3 separate regions of the Homo sapiens genome follow, and regions 1 and 3 are each linked to region 2. The links are contacts of gene promoters, found by promoter capture Hi-C in blood cells and fetal thymus (Javierre and others, 2016). All regions are on one chromosome and are shown on one strand. The core of a region is centred on a gene start or on the middle of the fragment in contact, and the rest is flanking DNA. Distances in the headings are between cores, read along the strand shown.

Region 1 (2,700 bases), core at 3-2,502, 110 kb after region 2:
CAGGTCTGTGTCCTAAGGTGGGTCCCTGCAAGAGAAGATCTCATCAACCCAGACTTTGGGTGCAGTCAGTGGGGGTCGCTGTGGGACCCACTGGACATATGGGATCTCTTGTCTGGGAGTGGGGTGGGGAGCCCTCTGTCCTTGGGCAGTTGTGGAAAATGATGGCGCCCCGGAGGGTTGGTTGGAGGGTGATGATCGTTCCTCCTCTTCACCGGGAACTGGGGCTCTTCCGCACAAGGCCCTTTCTCTGTTCCTTTACGGGCCTCGCCCTTTCTTTGTTCCGAATGTTCATGGGAAGGGACCCTCTGGAGTTCTCCAGGACCAAGTCATCAGAGTTCTCATTCTTTCTCAGTGACCCCGGAACACGAGGGTCCTTCCTGTATTGACAGCTCAGAACTTGGGATCCACTGTCCCTTCACCTGAGACATCTTCATGAGCAGAGAGGCTGCATTGACCCCAAACCAAGCACCCTCCCGTTTGGCTGATGTTATTCTTGAAGCGGCTTCACTGGCCAGAGGGAGTGGAGATGGGGGTGAAACGGAGCAGTCACGAGGTGTCTTGTTCCCTGTAAGAAACTGGGCATCTTCATGGTCCCTGCGTGATCCCAGGAGGCTGAGCATATGGAGCTCTCTGATCCCTGACCCCAGTCTACCTGCAGGTGTCTGAAATAGCGCACCACAGGCCCCTCACCCTCAGCAGATGGACACCGTTCCTCCCTTATGTGCCTGATTTAGGGCATTTGGGGACAATGGGCCTCTGTGTCCAGGTCCCCCTGTTCTCAAATCCTCAGGAAGAAGCCCACCTCTGGCTGGGGCAGGGACTCCAGAGACCCCAGCAGGCATGGGGACCCTAGATCTGGCCCCTTTTCACCCGGAGCGGTGGTGGCATGGGGTTCACCTGGCCGGCGGCGTCTCAGAGTTGGGTGGAAGCGGTTTGGGTGTTCTCTGTAGCACCCAGGTGCAGTGTGGCCTTTGGACAATGTTGTCTCGCAGGATGGACATGGAAAAGGATTACAGCTGCCCTGCCCGCGCAGGAGCGGGACATCATTGACAAGTGTGAGCAGGTCCGGGTCGGGCTGTTCCCTCGAGGGAGGCGAGGCCACCCATCTCCAGCTGTATCCTGGTCGGAGTGTCCTGGGCTCCCTCCGGATGCAGGGCCAGGACCAGCTGCTGGGAACTTCATGCCCCCACACCCCTCACCTCGGCCCCCTCACCCTGAATCCCCTCTGGGTCACAGGGATGCTGAGCAGAGGCACCTGCAGACGTGGGGCCTGAGGATATTGACAGCTACAAAGTCACCGATCACCTCGGGATTCGGCAGTGAGTCCTCTGTTCCCACCCTCACCACCCAGGGATGGGTTTTTTTTTTTTTTAGAAAGGCCTCACTGAGGCAGGACACATCTCCCCAGCTCGTGCCAATCTCCTTTCTAGCGTAGAAACTCCTCCCCTGTCAAAGTCCTTTAAATGCTCAAACTGCCTGCTTTGGATTCTTATTGAACTTATACTCCACCCTGTGGTACAGGGGCTAATATGCTGGGCCTTTACCACTTCAGCCCAGGTTCGATTCCTGGTCAGGGAACCAGTGCCACTTGTCTTAATTTGCATGACTCTTTACCCTTTGAGAGGTGAACCCAGAAAATCCGTGACAGGTCTCAGTTAATTTAGAAAGTTTATTTTGCCAAGGTTGAGGATGCACCCGTGATGGTCTCAGGAAGTCCTGACGACATGTGCCCAAGGTGGTTGGGACACAGCTTGCTTTTTTTTTTTTTTTTTTGAGACGGCGTCTCACACTATCACCCGGGCTGGAGTGCAGTGGCGCGATCTCAGTTCACTGCAACCTCTGCCTCCCAGACTCAAGCAATTCTCATGCCTCAGCCTCCTGAAAGGCTGGGATTACAGGCACCCACCACCATGCCCAGATAATTTTTTTTTTTTTTTGAGACGGCATCTCGCTCTGTCGCCCAGGCTGGAGTGCAGTGGTGCGATCTCGGCTCACTGCAAGCTCCACCTCCCGGGTTCACACCATTGTCCTGCCTCAGCCTCCCAGGTAGCTGGGACTACAGGCGCCCGCCACCACGCCTGGCTAATTTTTTGTACTTTTTAGTAGAGATGGAGTTTCTATGTGTTAGCCAGGATGGTCTCGATCTCCTGACCTCGTGATCCACCAGCCTCGGCCTCCCACAGTGCTGGGATTACAGGCGTGAGCCACTGCGCCTGGCCCACAGCTTGCTTTTATACATTTTAAGGAGACATGAGACATCAATCAATATATGTAAGAAGTACATTAGTTCTATCCAGAAAGGTGGGGACAGCTCAAAGCAAGCCCCCACCCCCCGGGGGAGGTAGATGGAGGCTGAGAGATCAGACCTTGCGGGGCACTTGGGGACATCAGGTGGGACAGGCCCCAGGTGCACCCTCAGTGCACTGGGCAGGTCTCAGGATCCTGGCCTGGTAATGTGGTCACTCCCTCGAGGACTGCTTTTGGGGCCCAGTCACCCACCCTGGGCCATACACGTCCTTTCTCAGGACTGGACTTTCTCAGCTCCTGCAGAGGGCACTGCCTCTAGCCCAGGAGGGGCAGCCCTGTTGTGTAGCCCAAGCCCATGCTCTACAGGGCCCTAGTGGTCCCTGCCCCACCCACACACCCCTCTTCTCCCAGGTCCTGTCCCTTCACAGGCGTCAGCCCACAGGGAGACCCTCT
Region 2 (2,700 bases), core at 122-2,621:
GGCCACGGGGCAGGCGGCTGTGCAGCTGCACGGCCATCACACTGCGGTGCCGCTCCACGGCGATGGCCAGCAGTGTGGCCACCGACGCAGTGAGGCTTGTGTCCAGCAAGCCCTGCCGCAGGAACCAGCCCTCAAGTGAAAGTCGGGCTGTGCGGGGACCAGTGTGGAACATGAGGAAGAGGTAGGCCACGCCCGCGAAGAGGTCAGCCGCGGCCAGATTGCCGAGCAGGTAGTAGATGGGCTGGTGGAAGCGGCGGTTGGAGGCGATGGCTGCTATGACCAGCAGATTGGTCAGCAGCACCAGCACGCTGACGGTCAGCCCCAGTGCCACCACGACCACATCCTTGGGCCGCCAGTGGGAGCTGAGCTCTTTGCCACTGTTGTTATAGAAGAAGCCGATGGTCTCGTTGTAGTAGCACTGGCCCATGATGACCATCTGGGGACACAAGAGATCAGTGCATGTGGCACTTCTTGGAAGGACACAGGGAGGGGCGGCAGCTGCAGAGGAGGGTCAGCGCAGGAAGGACAAGGGTCTCAAATTCAGATACCTCGAAGCAAAGTGGCAGTGGTGAGGACTACGGTGGCCTGGAAAAAGCAAGCTCCATGGGGCTGGGGTGGAGGTGGAGGAGCAGCTGTTTCTTACCTACTAATAAGACCTGTGTGCAAGACATCACCCAAGTCAATAGGTTTTTGAACCAGAAGTGAAACAAAACCCATCTATGGTCGAATCCCAGCCCACCTGCCGCCAATGTGTGACCCGGTTTGGGTTGTGGGGAGAGGAGGGTTAGGGAAAGACAAAGGGGTGTGAGCTGCGGGAAGAGATGAGGGAGGATCACTTTGGTGCCGGAGTCAGTGTAGGGAGCAGAGACCCGGGAGCGTGTGCACACAAGGGTGAGGTCACTTGCTAGAACCCTGCGAGGGGGCGGTGCCGAGGCGTGGAGGTGATCGGAGTGGACAGAGAGGCGGCCCCAGAAGTTAGTCGGCGGGATTTGGGCGCGAGTGCTTCCCAAGCGGGCGGGGCAATAGGCTGTTCCGGGTGGGACGGAGGACACTGGCGGTCTCCGGGACAAAGACAGCGGTTGGGGAAGGGATGGATGGCCGGGCCTCCAGGCGTCTCCAGACTGGGGAAGGGGTAGGGGGTTAAGGGATCAGAGGGCGGCGTCCTGGCCCCGCAGGCACGTGCCGCGCCCTTCCCCCGGGCCCAGGCCCGCACCCGCCCGCCTCCCGTCCGTGCAGGCCTCACCTGGGCCTCCAGTCACGCCGCAGACAAGGCGGGCTCGCGGGGGTTCGGGGCGGGCTCGAGGCCCATGGCCCGGCGACTGCGGCGGGAGCGGTAGAGCGTCCGGGTGCGCCCTGTGCGGGTTGCTGAGAGGGCGCGGGAGGCGGGGTCTCCCCGGCGCCCCGCCCCCACCACCTGGGGGAGCCCTGCCCCGCCCCGCCACCTGGGGGAGCCCCGCCTCCACGGCCGCGTCGGGGGCGGTGTCGCCCGGAACCGCAGCCCCCCTGTTTCCTCCCCGCCTCGCGGCCCCTCAGTCGCCCCTATTTCCGGCGCGGGACCCCCACCCCGGTACCTGCACACCTCATGCGCCCGCAGTTTCGAGCCTGCGGGGCTGAGTCACTCGGCGACCCGAAAATTCCCGCCGTGACCCCGCGCTGCCCGGGCGGAGCTCCAGGTGGTCTTGGGTCCGCGCCCCCGCTCCGGACCCCCAACCCTCCCAGCCCCACCCCGCTCTCTTCTTCGTGTCCAATCGGCCGCCGAGTTACAAGCCACTCCCTGATCCGACTTGGCTCCCACCGCCCGGACCCCCGCCCAGCTTCGGCTTTGCCAGCTCGCAGTATCAGCGAGCCGCGGCCTCCTGTGCGAGGCCCACCTCTGCGGCCCCAGCTGATCATCGGGCGCACGCTAGGGTTTTGCAATCCCGCCCCCGTACCCCTCACCCTGGGACAGCGCTGCCCCCTGCAAAGCCCGGCCCTGCCCTGCCCTGCCCTGTGGCTTCCTCCCTCGGCCTCCCTGCGGCGGCCCCGGGCTCCCACGGTCCGGAGCACACAGCCCCATTGTCCCGGTTATCGGTACTTTGTTATACTGTATTTGATTATGCAGGACCGGATCGGGGACGCAGAGCTCCGGGAGGGCCGGGCTGGCGTGACTCAGCCGGGTGCTGCGACCCAGCTCCAACTGCCTTTACGTAGGTGCTGCAGGGTGTTTGATGATGCAAGAAGGAGGCCTTGAGGCCGGGCGCAGTGGCTCACGCCTGTAATCCCTGCATTTTGGGAGGCCGATGCGGGACGATCACGAGATCAGGAGATCGAGACCATCCTGGCCAACATGCTGAAACCCCGTCTCTACTAAAAATACAAAAAAATTAGCCGGGCATGGTGGCAGGCGCCTGTAGTCCCAGCTACTCGGGAGGCTGAGGCAGGAGAATCGCTTGAACCCGGGAGGTGGAGGTTGCAGTGAGCGGAGATCGTGCCACTGCACTCCAACCTGGAGACAGAGCAAAACTCCGTCTCAAAAAAAAAAAAAAAAAAAAAAAAAAAAGAGGCCTTGATTCCCCTAATCTGTAAAATGGGGGCAAGGAGTGCTACCCATGCTGGCCTCTCCCCTAGCAGAGATGCACCCAAGGGCATATAGGACACAGTTTATTAGAGGCCATCAGACCTCAGGCACCACCAGCATGTGGAGTCTGAGCTGCCCACCTC
Region 3 (2,700 bases), core at 53-2,552, 120 kb before region 2:
AATAAATGGATGATGTGTCAACTGGACTTTTCTTTTGTCCCTTCTGCCCTGGCTTCTCTGTATTGTTTCGTCCTAGCTTCCCAGGCAGGTTGGAGGGAGATGGAGGATGACCCTTAGTTAATGAGAGAAGCAAAGGGCGGGGTGCATCTGCTGCTGGGGCCTCACTTACTGTGGGGATGGAGTCCCCACGGCCCCTCTCCTCTGGAGCTTTGTGGCAAACTTACCCCATGGGCTGGGAGAGAGGAATGAGAATCTCAGTGGGGGCTGGGTTTGGTGGCTCACATTTGTAATCCCAGCACTTTGAGAGGCTGAGGTGGGTGGATCACCTGAGGTCAGGAGTTCGATACCAGCCTGGCCAACATGGTGAAACCCCATCTCTACTAAAAATACAAAAATTGGCCGGATGTGGTGGTGGGTGCCTGTACCCCAGCTACTTGGGAGGCTGAGGCAGGAGAATCGCATGAACCCGGGAGGCAGAGGTTGCAGTGAGCCAAGATTGCGCCACTGCACTATAGCCTGGGTAAGAGACCGTGACTTTCTCAAAAAAAAAAAAAAATTCTCAGTGGAATTTGCTTGTGTTTGCTGCATCAGCCTTCACGCTAGAGTGGTGGGTTTTCCTGGAGCAATTTTCAGGCTGGGGGCCTCGATGGTGTCTTTGCTGCAGGATGTGATATTACAGATGTGCAATCTAAGCACAGAGTCACCAACCTGGATCCAAAATGAACGACGTCCTGGCAAAAATGTTTTCAAGTGTTGATAGTTTCAAGTTTTATTCTTAAGGTGAGACCTGGGATCATTTTGCTGAATTTTAATGTGCATAAAACATGACCCTGTTTTCCTAGGTGCTATTTATTTGAGGCAGGGTCTCACTCTGTTGCCCAGGCTGGAATGCAGTGGCTTGATCTCAGCTCACTGCAGCCTCAACCTCCCTAGGCTCAGGTGATCCTCACATCTCAGACTCCTCAGTAGCTGGGACTATGGGCATGCACCACCATGCCCAGCTAATTTTCGTATTTTTTGCAAAGACACATTTTTGCCATGTTGCCCATGGCTGGTCTTGAACTCCTGGACTCAAGCAGTCCTCTCACCTTGGCCTCCCAAAGTGCTGGGATTACAGGTGTGAGTCACCACGCTTGGCCGTTTCTTGTCTTTGAAGCATCCTTGCCTCCGGCCTGGGAGCTCATACCTTCCCCACAACTCCCAAGTGCCTGGTCTTATGGGCACAGAGCTGGTAGAGAACATGGTAGAAACTGAACCTCAGCCTGTCCAGTAGCGCGATCTTGGCTCATTGCAACCTCCGCCTCCCAGGTTCTAGCGATTCTTCTGCCTCAGCCTCCCGAGTAGCTGGGATTACAGGTGCCGCCACCAGCACGCCCAGTTAATTTTCAGTAGAGATGGGGTTTCACGTGTTGGCCAGGCTGGTCTCAAACTCCTGATGTGATCCACCGGTCTCAGCCTCCCAAAGTACTGGGATGACAGGCGTGAGCCACTGCACCCAGCCACTTTTTTTTTTTTTTTTTTTTGAGATAGGCTCTCTGTTGCCCAAGCTAGAGTGCCTAGAGGCTCTCTGTTGCCCAGGCTCAGGCGATCCTCCCACCTCAGCCTACCGTGTAGCTGGGGCCAGAGGCTTGCTACAGGCATTTCTTGCTTGGCCTGAGAAACATTCCTATGGGGTGCTGTCTCCTGGGCTTGGCTCTTGGTTCCTCGTGAGGCTCTGCTTCCCTGGATTGGGCACAGGCTTGTCAGTGCAGTTGGGGCAGATTCAAGGGGCGGGTCCTGGGTCATGGTCTCAAATAGCCTCTCCAGCTGAGAAAATGGGACACTCCCCTCGTCCCTGACATCTTGTCCCCGACATCTCATCCTCTCTGAATTGAGCCTTGGGTCTGTGGCCACATGGCAGGCAGAGACCCTGACCCCATCTGCTCCCACAGATTCGTCGGTGGACAGATGGCATGCACTATGCCCTGGGCCCCGGAGATGTGGCAGGAGCTATCCAGACAGAAACATATAGCACCTTGAGAGGAGGGCATGGGGTGACATTTTAGGCAAGGCTTGAAGAGGGGAAAAGTGCCAGGAGTGTGCAAAGGCTTGGAGATAGGAGCCAGCATGGCAGGTCAAGAACAAAAAGGGCAATGTGGTGGGACTGGGTGGGAAGACGGGGCAAGGGCGTGGGTTTTAGCTAAGTGCAGTGGGAGTCTAGGGAAGGTCCTGGGCCCAGTACTCAAGCTACGCCCACTCTGAAGCCATGCCCACTACCCCAAGGATGGGGTTTTGCCCATTTTCCAAGTGGGGAGTCTGAGGCATGGCCCCAGTCAGGAGCAGCACCCTTCGAATAAACCAGAGGGGCTAGGGGCTAGGTTTTATTTTATTTATTTATTTTTTCTTTTGAGGCAGAGTCTTGCTCTGCTGCCCAGGCTGGAGTGCATTGGTGGGATCTTGGCTCACTGCATCCTCCATTTTCCGGGTTCAAGTGATTCTCCTGACTCAGGCTCCCCAGTAGCTAGGACTACAGGTGCAAGCCACCCATGCCCGACTAAATTTTGTATTTTTAGTAGAGATGGGGTTTTACCATGTTAGCCAGGCTGGTCTCAAACGCCTGACCTCAAGTGATCCGCCTCCCAAAGTGCTGGGATTACAGGTGTGAGCCACCATGCCCGGCCCCAGGAGCTGGGTTTTCTACCTCCACTCTGATGTGGTCCA

Evidence for each region. The method cuts DNA at HindIII sites, captures the fragments that hold promoters and counts their contacts. A CHiCAGO score of 5 or more calls a contact.
Region 1: a fragment that was not itself captured here is called in contact with the fragment with the promoter of LPAR2 in region 2 in 1 of 17 cell types (non-activated CD4 T cells); the score reaches 5.1 in non-activated CD4 T cells.
Region 3: a fragment that was not itself captured here is called in contact with the fragment with the promoter of LPAR2 in region 2 in 6 of 17 cell types (non-activated CD4 T cells, monocytes, activated CD4 T cells and 3 more); the score reaches 6.4 in non-activated CD4 T cells.

Annotation. Positions count from the first base shown.
Region 1 is chr19:19,739,891-19,742,590 of GRCh38, forward strand. No RefSeq gene overlaps it. Among named protein-coding and RNA genes, the nearest start is that of ZNF14, 8.1 kb to the left of the region's middle. The HindIII fragment of the contact is 6,926 bases long and covers 1-2,700 here.
Region 2 is chr19:19,626,849-19,629,548 of GRCh38, forward strand. LPAR2 (lysophosphatidic acid receptor 2) reads right to left here and starts at 1,372. Exons shown (of 3, transcript NM_001395660.1): 1 at 1,244-1,372; 2 at 1-436. The coding sequence starts at 427. It overlaps GMIP (GEM interacting protein), which reads right to left. Exons shown (of 21, transcript NM_016573.4): 21 at 2,628-2,700. RefSeq lists silencers at 1,123-1,622, 1,993-2,122 and an enhancer at 1,760-2,682. The HindIII fragment of the contact is 41,803 bases long and covers 1-2,700 here.
Region 3 is chr19:19,508,907-19,511,606 of GRCh38, forward strand. It overlaps GATAD2A (GATA zinc finger domain containing 2A), which reads left to right. Exons shown (of 12, transcript NM_001384528.1): 12 at 1-26. Among named protein-coding and RNA genes, the nearest start is that of TSSK6, 5.3 kb to the right of the region's middle. The HindIII fragment of the contact is 3,522 bases long and covers 1-2,700 here.